Linked DNA regions of Homo sapiens: all the other regions are linked to region 1. Evidence: promoter capture Hi-C in 16 types of primary human blood cells and fetal thymus (Javierre and others, 2016). All regions are on one chromosome and are shown on one strand. The core of a region is centred on a gene start or on the middle of the fragment in contact, and the rest is flanking DNA. Distances in the headings are between cores, read along the strand shown.

What was found. Contacts are between HindIII fragments. The CHiCAGO score rates a contact against its expected background, and 5 or more counts as called.
Region 2: a fragment that was not itself captured here is called in contact with the fragment with the promoter of GAK in region 1 in 2 of 17 cell types (monocytes and M2 macrophages); the score reaches 6.2 in monocytes.
Region 3: a contact is called between a fragment that was not itself captured here and the fragment with the promoter of GAK in region 1, in 3 of 17 cell types (fetal thymus, naive CD4 T cells and total CD8 T cells). The highest score is 8.7, in fetal thymus.

What each region holds. Positions count from the first base shown.
Region 1 is chr4:930,833-933,741 of GRCh38, forward strand. GAK (cyclin G associated kinase) reads right to left here and starts at 1,484. Exons shown (of 28, transcript NM_005255.4): 1 at 1,211-1,484. The coding sequence starts at 1,355. TMEM175 (transmembrane protein 175) reads left to right here and starts at 1,628. Exons shown (of 11, transcript NM_032326.4): 1 at 1,628-1,708. RefSeq lists a silencer at 1,270-1,589 and an enhancer at 1,750-2,069. The HindIII fragment of the contact is 2,323 bases long and covers 1-1,914 here.
Region 2 is chr4:1,294,022-1,296,930 of GRCh38, forward strand. All of the region lies in intron 1 of MAEA (macrophage erythroblast attacher, E3 ubiquitin ligase), which reads left to right. Among named protein-coding and RNA genes, the nearest start is that of MAEA, 5.6 kb to the left of the region's middle. RefSeq lists an enhancer at 797-1,760. The HindIII fragment of the contact is 8,664 bases long and covers 1-2,909 here.
Region 3 is chr4:670,604-673,512 of GRCh38, forward strand. It overlaps ATP5ME (ATP synthase membrane subunit e), which reads right to left. Exons shown (of 4, transcript NM_007100.4): 3 at 2,700-2,798; 4 at 1,833-1,916. The coding sequence ends at 1,897. It overlaps PDE6B (phosphodiesterase 6B), which reads left to right. Exons shown (of 22, transcript NM_000283.4): 22 at 1-179. Among named protein-coding and RNA genes, the nearest start is that of ATP5ME, 2.2 kb to the right of the region's middle. The HindIII fragment of the contact is 765 bases long and covers 1,085-1,849 here.

The sequences.
Region 1 (2,909 bases), core at 234-2,733:
CTACAGTCAAAATGTCTCCGCAGGCCTTTTGTGATAATCAGAATTCTGGGATAGTCTCCTGTCTGGTCACAGAGCAGGCACCTGGACAGGCTAACCCTCCAGCCCTGAGAGGTACCAGGGAGCTGGTGAGGGTGAGGGCTTTTGTGTCGCTTCACTCCCTCTCCCTGTGCCAATACAGCAGAATAGAGTTACGCTTCCGCACCCAAGTCAACTGTGTTTAGCCCATAAACTTCACAGCCAGTGAAATATGACACACCTCCAGGCACCACTGGACAAAAAATGTAAGGAAAATCCACAAGAGAGAATGGGACCCACTGGCACTGGTGATCGATTCCGTGTGAACGGAGAGGACATCCAGGGAGCTAGAAATAGCATGCAGAGACAAAACTGACTCAAGACTGACTCAAGAGGACTTAAGCCGAGTGACCTGTCCACTCTGCAAGTTCTATATAGGTCACAACCACTGGCTCTGCTTCCTGTACTACACACGGAATCACACGAGTAGATGTTCACCGGGAAGAGAAACACTGAGGTGTTGAAAGACGAAGGGGGATCACGAGACACAGCCCAGTCTACCCTCGGCCAACCCCCCCACCCCCCAGGCTACAACCGCAACTACCTGCAACACGTGTGCACCCACCAACTCTCAAGTTCCCTGGACTGTAGAAGAACCAGCCCTAACCTCCAAAGTCCAGTCCTGTCCCTGCCTGCTCAATAACCCCAGATGTCCGGCAAAAGGCCAAGGCTTAAACCCACCTCCTGCACCGCTCACCTCCTGACTCCAGCTGTCGGCCTTCTAGGCACCGTCCCTCAGTCTCCGCTGTGGGTCCCCACCCAAGCTCCCTGCCTGCCACCATCCCCCACCTCACCGTAACATCTTCCCCCACCCACCCTGAGGGGGTTCCCCAAGCCCCAGGCCTTGCTCCGACTTGACCCTACTCTTATGACAAGAAAGTACCCCGACCCGGTCCCAGCCTCGCCCTCCGCAATCACCGCCAGCAGGCACTCACCTACGCCCGCGCTATGACCTTCGCCTGGCCCTGACCCACGCCCTCGGCAGAGACCCTCCCCTGGCCGACCCTGACCCACGATCCCGCTGGGACCCTCCCCAGCCCTAACCCACGCCCTTCCACTCCGGGCTGACGCTGCCCCCAGCGTCCCGGAGACAACACTCCGCGGCCGCACCCGCGCTGCCGACCCGGGGCCTCACCTTCGGCCAGGACCCGCCGCACCCGCAGCCGCAGCTCGCCCAGTTCCACCGTCTGCCCCACGAAGTCACTCTGGTCGCGGCCGGAAGCACCGCCCAGGGAGCCTGGACCCGCCAAGAAGTCGAGCGCCGACTGCAGCAGCGACATGGCGGTGGCTGCGCCGCACCCCGCGGCAGCCGGAGTGGTCGGGCTCGGGCTCCCGCTCCCTCGCCGTCCGGGTCAGCTCAGCAACCGCCGGCCCGGAGGTGCACCATCTTCCGCCTCGACGCCGTGACGTAGGCGCCCGTGAGGACGCGTCGCGTCAGGCGGCGACCCGGCCTAGCCCCGTCCCCTCCGCCGCGGCCTCACTTCCTGGCTGCGCGCGCAGGCGCGGAGGTCTGACGGAGACAGCGCGTGCGCGGCGTCGCCGGGCTTGCGATGAACTTCCGGCTGTCAAGCTCCCGGCCGGGCTGACTCAAGCGGAGGCGCGCGGAACAGTCGCCGAGGCGATTCCCGCCCAGGTAGTTCAGCGCCCCAGTCCAGCTCCCGGTACCGTTCCCCACATGGTCTGTTTTGTGGGAGGCTCCTTCTCAGGTGTCTCCGGTTTAAGCGCTTCGCCATCCTCTGGGTGGAGTCAGCCTCCCGTTTGCTGTTAGCGCCGCGTTTGCGAATGGGTTCGCGAATTTTTCTCTCAGTTGGCTAAGGAGCAAGGAGTTAGCGTGCGTTAAGCTTTCAGTAAATACTTGGTTTTCGTCTCATGGAGGTCGGAGTTTCCTGTGACGCTTAGTGAGTAAGGTTGGCAGCCCCCTCCCAGCAGCCAGGCAGGCAGTTTGCAGGGGAAACGCTGCTGCATTGCTCTGTCTTCCGAGGAGAGGGCCAGGGTCTGGCCTGGGGCAGTGACCAGTAGTGGGAGCCGTGGGCTAGAAAAACCTTCGTCCTGGGCAACCACAACACTGCAGAGACTGCCCTGTGACCCTCAAGGTTCGTTCTCACCCTGACATTTTCCAAGGCAAAAGCAAATCCTCATGAACCACTTGGAAGGGTTCGTAATGCCCAACTATTTGGAGATGAAATGGTGACTTTCCTTATAGGATAATAAGGAAATGGCTCACAGACAATGCATTTTTAGTTTTTGGCCCACACAGTATTTGGGGGTTGGGAGTGGGTAGCAGGAGGTGAATTAGTTGCTATCATTTAAAGACTGATGCCAGGCGCGGTGGCTTACACCTGTAATCCCAGTGCTTTGGGAGGCCGAGGCAGGCGGATCACCTGAGGTCAGGAGTTCCAGACCAGCCTGGTCAACATGGTGAAACCCCGTCTCTACTAAAAATACAAAAATTAGCCGAGCGTGGTGGCGGGTGCCTGTAATCCCAGCTACTCGGGAGGCTGAGGCAGGAGAATCGCTTGAACCCGGGAGGCGGGCGCCACTGTACCCTAGCCTGAGACTCCGCCTCAAAAAATAAATAATAATAATAATAATAATTGAAAGGCCTAAATGTTAAAAACCTAGTTTTCCAGCTTCTGTGGAAAAATCAAACCTGTCAATATTGGACCCAAAATGATGTGTGTTACCAATTACCTAGAGTGGTCCCTTGAGGTAAGACACAGTCATTTGCCTGACCAGATGGGCTCATGTATGTTACCTGCCTGGTTCCTATAGTCATTTAAGGTTGCAACCCCTTCAACAGAGTTATTTGTTCTCCAACTCAAAAATGGATTCTA
Region 2 (2,909 bases), core at 193-2,692, 360 kb after region 1:
ACATTGGGTTGGACCCTGGTGATGCCGTGTCTGAGGAGTCTTAGGCCGGGTCTCCACCTCTTCTGTGGCCGGCTTTTTCGATGTACTTTATCTGCAGTAACGTCACAGCCCTCCAGAATCCGCCCGGTCTCTAGAGCACAGTGGAAATTCCTTCTGCCCAGAAGAGCCATGGTCTGCCCTTTGTGGCTCCCAGCTCCACTCCCCTCGCCTCTCCCACCGTTTGCTGGTGGTTTGGCCCTGGGCTGGCTTCCGCGGCCTCCGCGCTGGCACAGGTCTTCCCTCCCAGGCCTGGGCCTTTCCAGCTGGTTGGGCAAGGCTGAGATAAGGATGTAGACTTGAATTCACTGCTAGCTGGGGGGTTGGTTTTGTTTTTGTTTTTTTAAGTATTATTTTTTTAACACATTTCAAGTCAAGAAAGTGCTTTTTAATGCCTGATTCACCGTAATGGCTGGGCTAGGTTGGAGGCAGTACTGACGTGAGGCCTGGAGCGGCCCTGGGACCTAAGCAAGGCACCGCCGCCGGGCTGCAGAGCAGGGCTGCAGGTGCACTTAGCTTCTCCCATACCCCCCTCCGCAGCAGTGGTCTGAGAGCCTCCATCGGCCAGGTACGGTCAGGCCCTGCACAGTCAGGCCCTGGGCTAGCATGATGGGGAGACAAGTGAGGCCCCTGTCTACGCTCCGGTGGGAGGGAGGCATCAGCACAAGCACACACAGACATCTCAGATCCTTTAAAGACGCTGATGAGGTTGAGGTGATGTTGGACAGTGGCAGGGGACGGGGGTGGGGCCGGGGGCAGGGGCAGGGGCAGGGGCGGGGGTGGGGATGAGCTTCCTCCAGTGAATGCGATATTGTGAGCTGGTTGGCGGAGCTAAGTTTTGGGGTGAGGCTCTGTGGACCGTGTTGAAGTCCTGGCCGGCTCTCACCCCAGTAGGCACACAGGCACACAGCACCATTGGGGTGATGTGGCTGGGGGTGTCCCAGAGCTGTGCAGGGAGGGTCTCACAGTGAGACTGGGTGCTGGGCAGTGACTCGGTCTGTGGGTACAGGGGTCAGCAGAATGGGAAGCAAGCCCAAGGAGACACATTGGCACCAGAATGAAGACAAGGCCGGCCGGTGCCTGTAGCATGTGACTGCCCCGTCTGCAGAGAGGCTGTGCTGCGAGCCCCACCCTCTGGGGGCTTCAGGCCGAGTGGGGATGTCTGGGTGCTGACCCAGGCATCGCAAAGCACACTTCCTGCCGGGGTAACTGCTGATGATTTTTAGGTCTGTTATTTCAGAATCGTTATAGCTAGGGGCCATTATTTTGAAAACCTGAACAAAAAGAATTATTCACTGTGTTAATACCACATTTAGTGACTGTTGAGCTGAATGTGGCTGAGCAGAAGAAAGCACCTGCTGTGCTGATGGCTGACTGTGGACCCGGACCGGGACCCTGAGTGCTGCCCCACTCGAGGGAGGGGCCCAGAGCAGCCTCCTTCCTCTCCTCCCAGGCGAGCCTTTCATACCTGTCCTTCTCTCAGACTTTCCCTCCTACTTCATGCTCGCCCATGCCTGTCACGCAGACCCTGCCTGACCTGCACCTGCTCCCACACCCGTGGTGGATGAGCCCCATCACCCGTACCTGTACCCCCCTCACCCGCTCCTGTACCCCCTCACCCGCTCCTATACCCCCTCACCCACACCTGTACCCCCCTCACCCGCTCCTGTACCCCCTCACCCGCGCCTGTGCCCCCTCACCCGTGCCTCTGCCCCCCTCACCCGCGCCTGTGCCCCCCTCCCCAGCGCCTGTGCCCCCTCACCCACGCCTGTGCCCTCCTCACCCATGCCGGTGCCCACCACACCTGCGCCTTTGCCCCTTCACCTGTGTCTGCACCGCCCTCACCTGTGCTGCCTTCACCTGCACCCCCTCACCCACACCTGTGCCACCCTCGCCCGCACCTGTGCCCCCCTCACCCACGTCTGCACTGCCCTCACCTGTGCTGCCCTCACCTGTGCCCCCCACCTGTGCCTGTGCCCCCCTCACCTGCTCCTCCCTCACCTGCTCCTCCCTCACCTGCTCCTGCACCACCTTCACGTGCGCCCCCCACCTACATCTGCACCTCACCTATGCTACCCTCACCTGTGCCCCCCCACCCGCACCTGTGCCCCCCTCACCCACGTCTGCACTGCCCTCACCTGTGCTGCCCTCACCTGTGCCCCCCACCTGTGCCTGTGCCCCCCTCACCTGCTCCTCCCTCACCTGCTCCTCCCTCACCTGCTCCTGCACCACCTTCACGTGCGCCCCCCACCTACATCTGCACCTCACCTATGCTACCCTCACCTGTGCCCCCCCACCCGCACCTGTGCCCCCCTCACCTGTGCCTGTGCAGCCGTCACCCATGCCATTCCTCACCTGTACCCCTCACCCATGCCTGTGCCGTTCCTCACCCGTGCCTGTGCCCCCCTCACCCGTGCCTGTGCCTCCCTCACTTGCGCTGTGCCCCCCTCACCTGTGCTGTGCCCTTTGCCTTGTGGCTGCTCCTGCACTTGGTTCTCTCTCTGTTGGTCGGTTTTCCCATTGGCTGTGCAGCTCCCTGGTGTGCACGTGGCTCTGAGTCTTCCTCTCGTGAAAACCCCTTCCTTGCCCCCGTCCTCCTCCAGCTACTACTCCCTGTCTCTGCCCCTTCATGTCTCTCTTCCTGTTTTACCTAAATCAGATTTTTGCCCCCCAACACTCCACCCAGATGTTCCTCTTGAGGACAGGATGATGCTCCTGAAAGCGGTCAGTCCACAGCGGACCCCACTGCCTCGAGACGCTCCCATCACTCGGCTCCCGTGACACCATCCTCTGGGCTCTCCCCACCCCTCGCTGCATGTCCTCACTTGCCTATGCTGTCTTCTCTAGTCTTGGAGGCCTTTTGTTTTATGTCA
Region 3 (2,909 bases), core at 217-2,716, 260 kb before region 1:
GATAGTTACCACTGGGAGACCTTTGAAAAGGGTCCATGAACTCTGAAATCACTGAGAACATTTGCAGCCACACATGTACATATGTGTACACAGGTAGACAGATGGACACAGGCCGTTTCTCATCCAGTTTAGGAAAACACACATGCTCAGGAATTCAGAATAAAATAAACAGAAAACTACTTGCCCATTATCTGTGGTAAAATGATAGCGGAAGCCACACTACATTTGACCCATCAGAAAATTCTGCCAGAGAGGTCAAGGCCATGAGTAAAGCGGCCATCCAACTTCAGTGGTCTGAGCGGAAATGATCTGTAATAAACACCATGTAGAGTGGCTCTGATGGCCCCAGACGGCACCAGGAGGGCAGTGCAGGGCTGGATGCCGAAGCCCGTGCACCCCCATGATTAAATATTGGTGAGCCTGGAGTGAAGGACAGAGGCAAAGAAACGGACTTCCCAGTTGAAATCGGTATTATGTTAAATTCAGGATGTTCAACTCATGATGTGAGCTCCAAGGCATTTGCTCCCAACACTAGATGACGCTTAACTAGATGGGCTCATTGGGGTGGGCGTGGGAGAGCAGCAGACATGCCCAGCACAGCCATGGGGCTGCAGGAAGGGGGTGCTGGGTTTTTTGCTTGAGACAGTCTCACTCTGTCACCCAGCCTGGAGTGGAGTGGTGTGATCTTGGCTCAATGCAACCTCCACCTTCCGGGTTCAAGCAATTCTCCTGCCTCAGCCTCCTGAGTAGCTGGGATTACAGGCACCCATCACCACAACCAGCTAATTTTTGTATTTTTAGTAAAGACAAGGTTTCGCCATGTTGGCCAGGCTGGTCTTGAACTCCTGACCTCAAGTGATCTGCCCACCTTGGCCTCCCAAAGTGCTGGGATTACAGGTGTGAACCACCGTGCCCAGCCTTTTCATCTCACTGGTCAGAGACCCCTGGTATCCAGAGCCTGGGTCTGGGATGAGGGGCTCTTAAGAGGTTCTGAGGGATCCTGCAAACAGCCCCTCTGGACGCCAGGACAGGATGTGAAAGTATCTTGCTCACTCAAAGCTCACCTTAACCAAATGTCCTGAAAAGCTTATAGGCTGCTTCTCCCTTTGGCCTTATATTTGCAAACGAACTCATTTTACAAACTGGGGCTCCAAGCCTAGATTTGCTCAAGGCACATAACTGGGAAGTAGCAAATTCAATCTGTCCATTGCAAACCACCAGGCCAAGGGTTTGGGTTGTTGGCAAGCTCACAGCCAGGAGGGGCGAGAAGCCCAGGAAGCCTGCTGGGGAGGGAAGTGGCTCAGGCACCACAAGACCACCTCCCTGCACAACTCAAACAGCACTCAGGCCCTGTGCTCAGGAGGTCACATCACCAGACTTTTAGTCCCAAGTCTGACCTGGCCACTTCCTGGGATCAAAGGGAGGATTTGTGAAATGGCAGGTTGGGGCGAGGGGTTATTGTGGAGGAGGACCCAGCTTCCCAACTGTAAGGGCGTCAGTCAGTGCCTACCCCTCCCCATCCAGGGGTCTGGGCTGCTGAGAGCAGCAGCCTAGAACTCAGAATCAAGACAACCCCAGTACTCATGAGGCCCCCAGCTGACTGACTCCATTACAGACGGCCTTTGGGGCTCCCCACCTGGATGCCCCAGACAGAACAGGCAGCGCGCATCTGTCCTTCCCACTGTGTTTACATGATGCATTCTGGGTCTGTGAATGGTAATGTGGATTCTTTTGAAACCCCCTCCCTGTCTTCCACCTCACGTGAACTGGGAGGTGGACAGAACTTCAACCTAGGAATTCCACAACCAGCGACAGCAAATGAGGAGCCGGAGTATCACACAACACAGGAAGCTTTATTCATCCGCTGCTGGTCCAAAGAGTGGGTCGCAGGGTCACTCACTTTAATATGCTGTCATCTTGGGCCGGAAGGTTAGAAGAAAAGCACATGTTACCACTCAGGCAACCTAAAAAGACCACTTCAGCTTCCCAGTTATTTTTTTTTTTTTTTTTTTTGTTTTGAGACGGAGTCTCGCTCTGTCACCCAATGGCGCAATCTCAGCTCACTGCAACCTCTGCATCCCAGGTTAAAGCGATTCTCCCACCTCAGCCTTCTGAGTAGCTGGGATTACATGCACCCGCCATCATGCCTGGCTAATTTTTTTTAGACAGAATTTCACTTTGCTGCTCAGGCTGGAGTGCAGTGGCGTGATCTCAGCTCACTGCAACCTCCGCCTCCCGGGTTCAAGCAATTCTCATGCCTCAGCTTTCTGAGTAGCTGGGATTACAGGTGCCTGCCACCATGCCCGGCTGATTTTTTGTATTTTAGTAGAAATGGGGTTTCACCATCTTGCCCAGGCTGGTCTCGAACTCCAGAGCTCAGGCAATCTGCCTGTCTCAGCCTCCCAAAGTGCTAGGATTACAGGCATGAGCCACCGCACCGGGCCATGCCCGGCTAATTTTTGTAGAGACAGGGTTGCACCATGTTGGTCAGGCTGGTCTTGAACTCCTAACCTCAGGTGATCTGCCCGCCTTGGCCTCCCAAAGTGCTGGGATACAGGCATGAGCCACCACGCCTGGCCAGCTTCCCCATTTTTAAACAATCCGCATCTACTTAGCTCTGCTTAAATGTCCTCCTCCATTTTCCTTATCCCTGCACAAACCTGGGAGGGACAATCTATAAGAGCCAGTGTCACTCGTACCTTCTGCCAATTCTCTGGCAATCCGTTTCAGTTCATCCTGCTTCTTCTTCTCTTCTGCTGCTATCCTCCTCTCCTCTTCTGCCCGAGGTTTTAGGTAATCTGTTTGGCGGAATGCAGGAGAATAAAATTCACTGGAAATGCTGTACAAAAGGAACTGAGTCCACAGGTCAAGGTATCTTCAGCGACGCTGTAAACCAGACGCACCTGCTG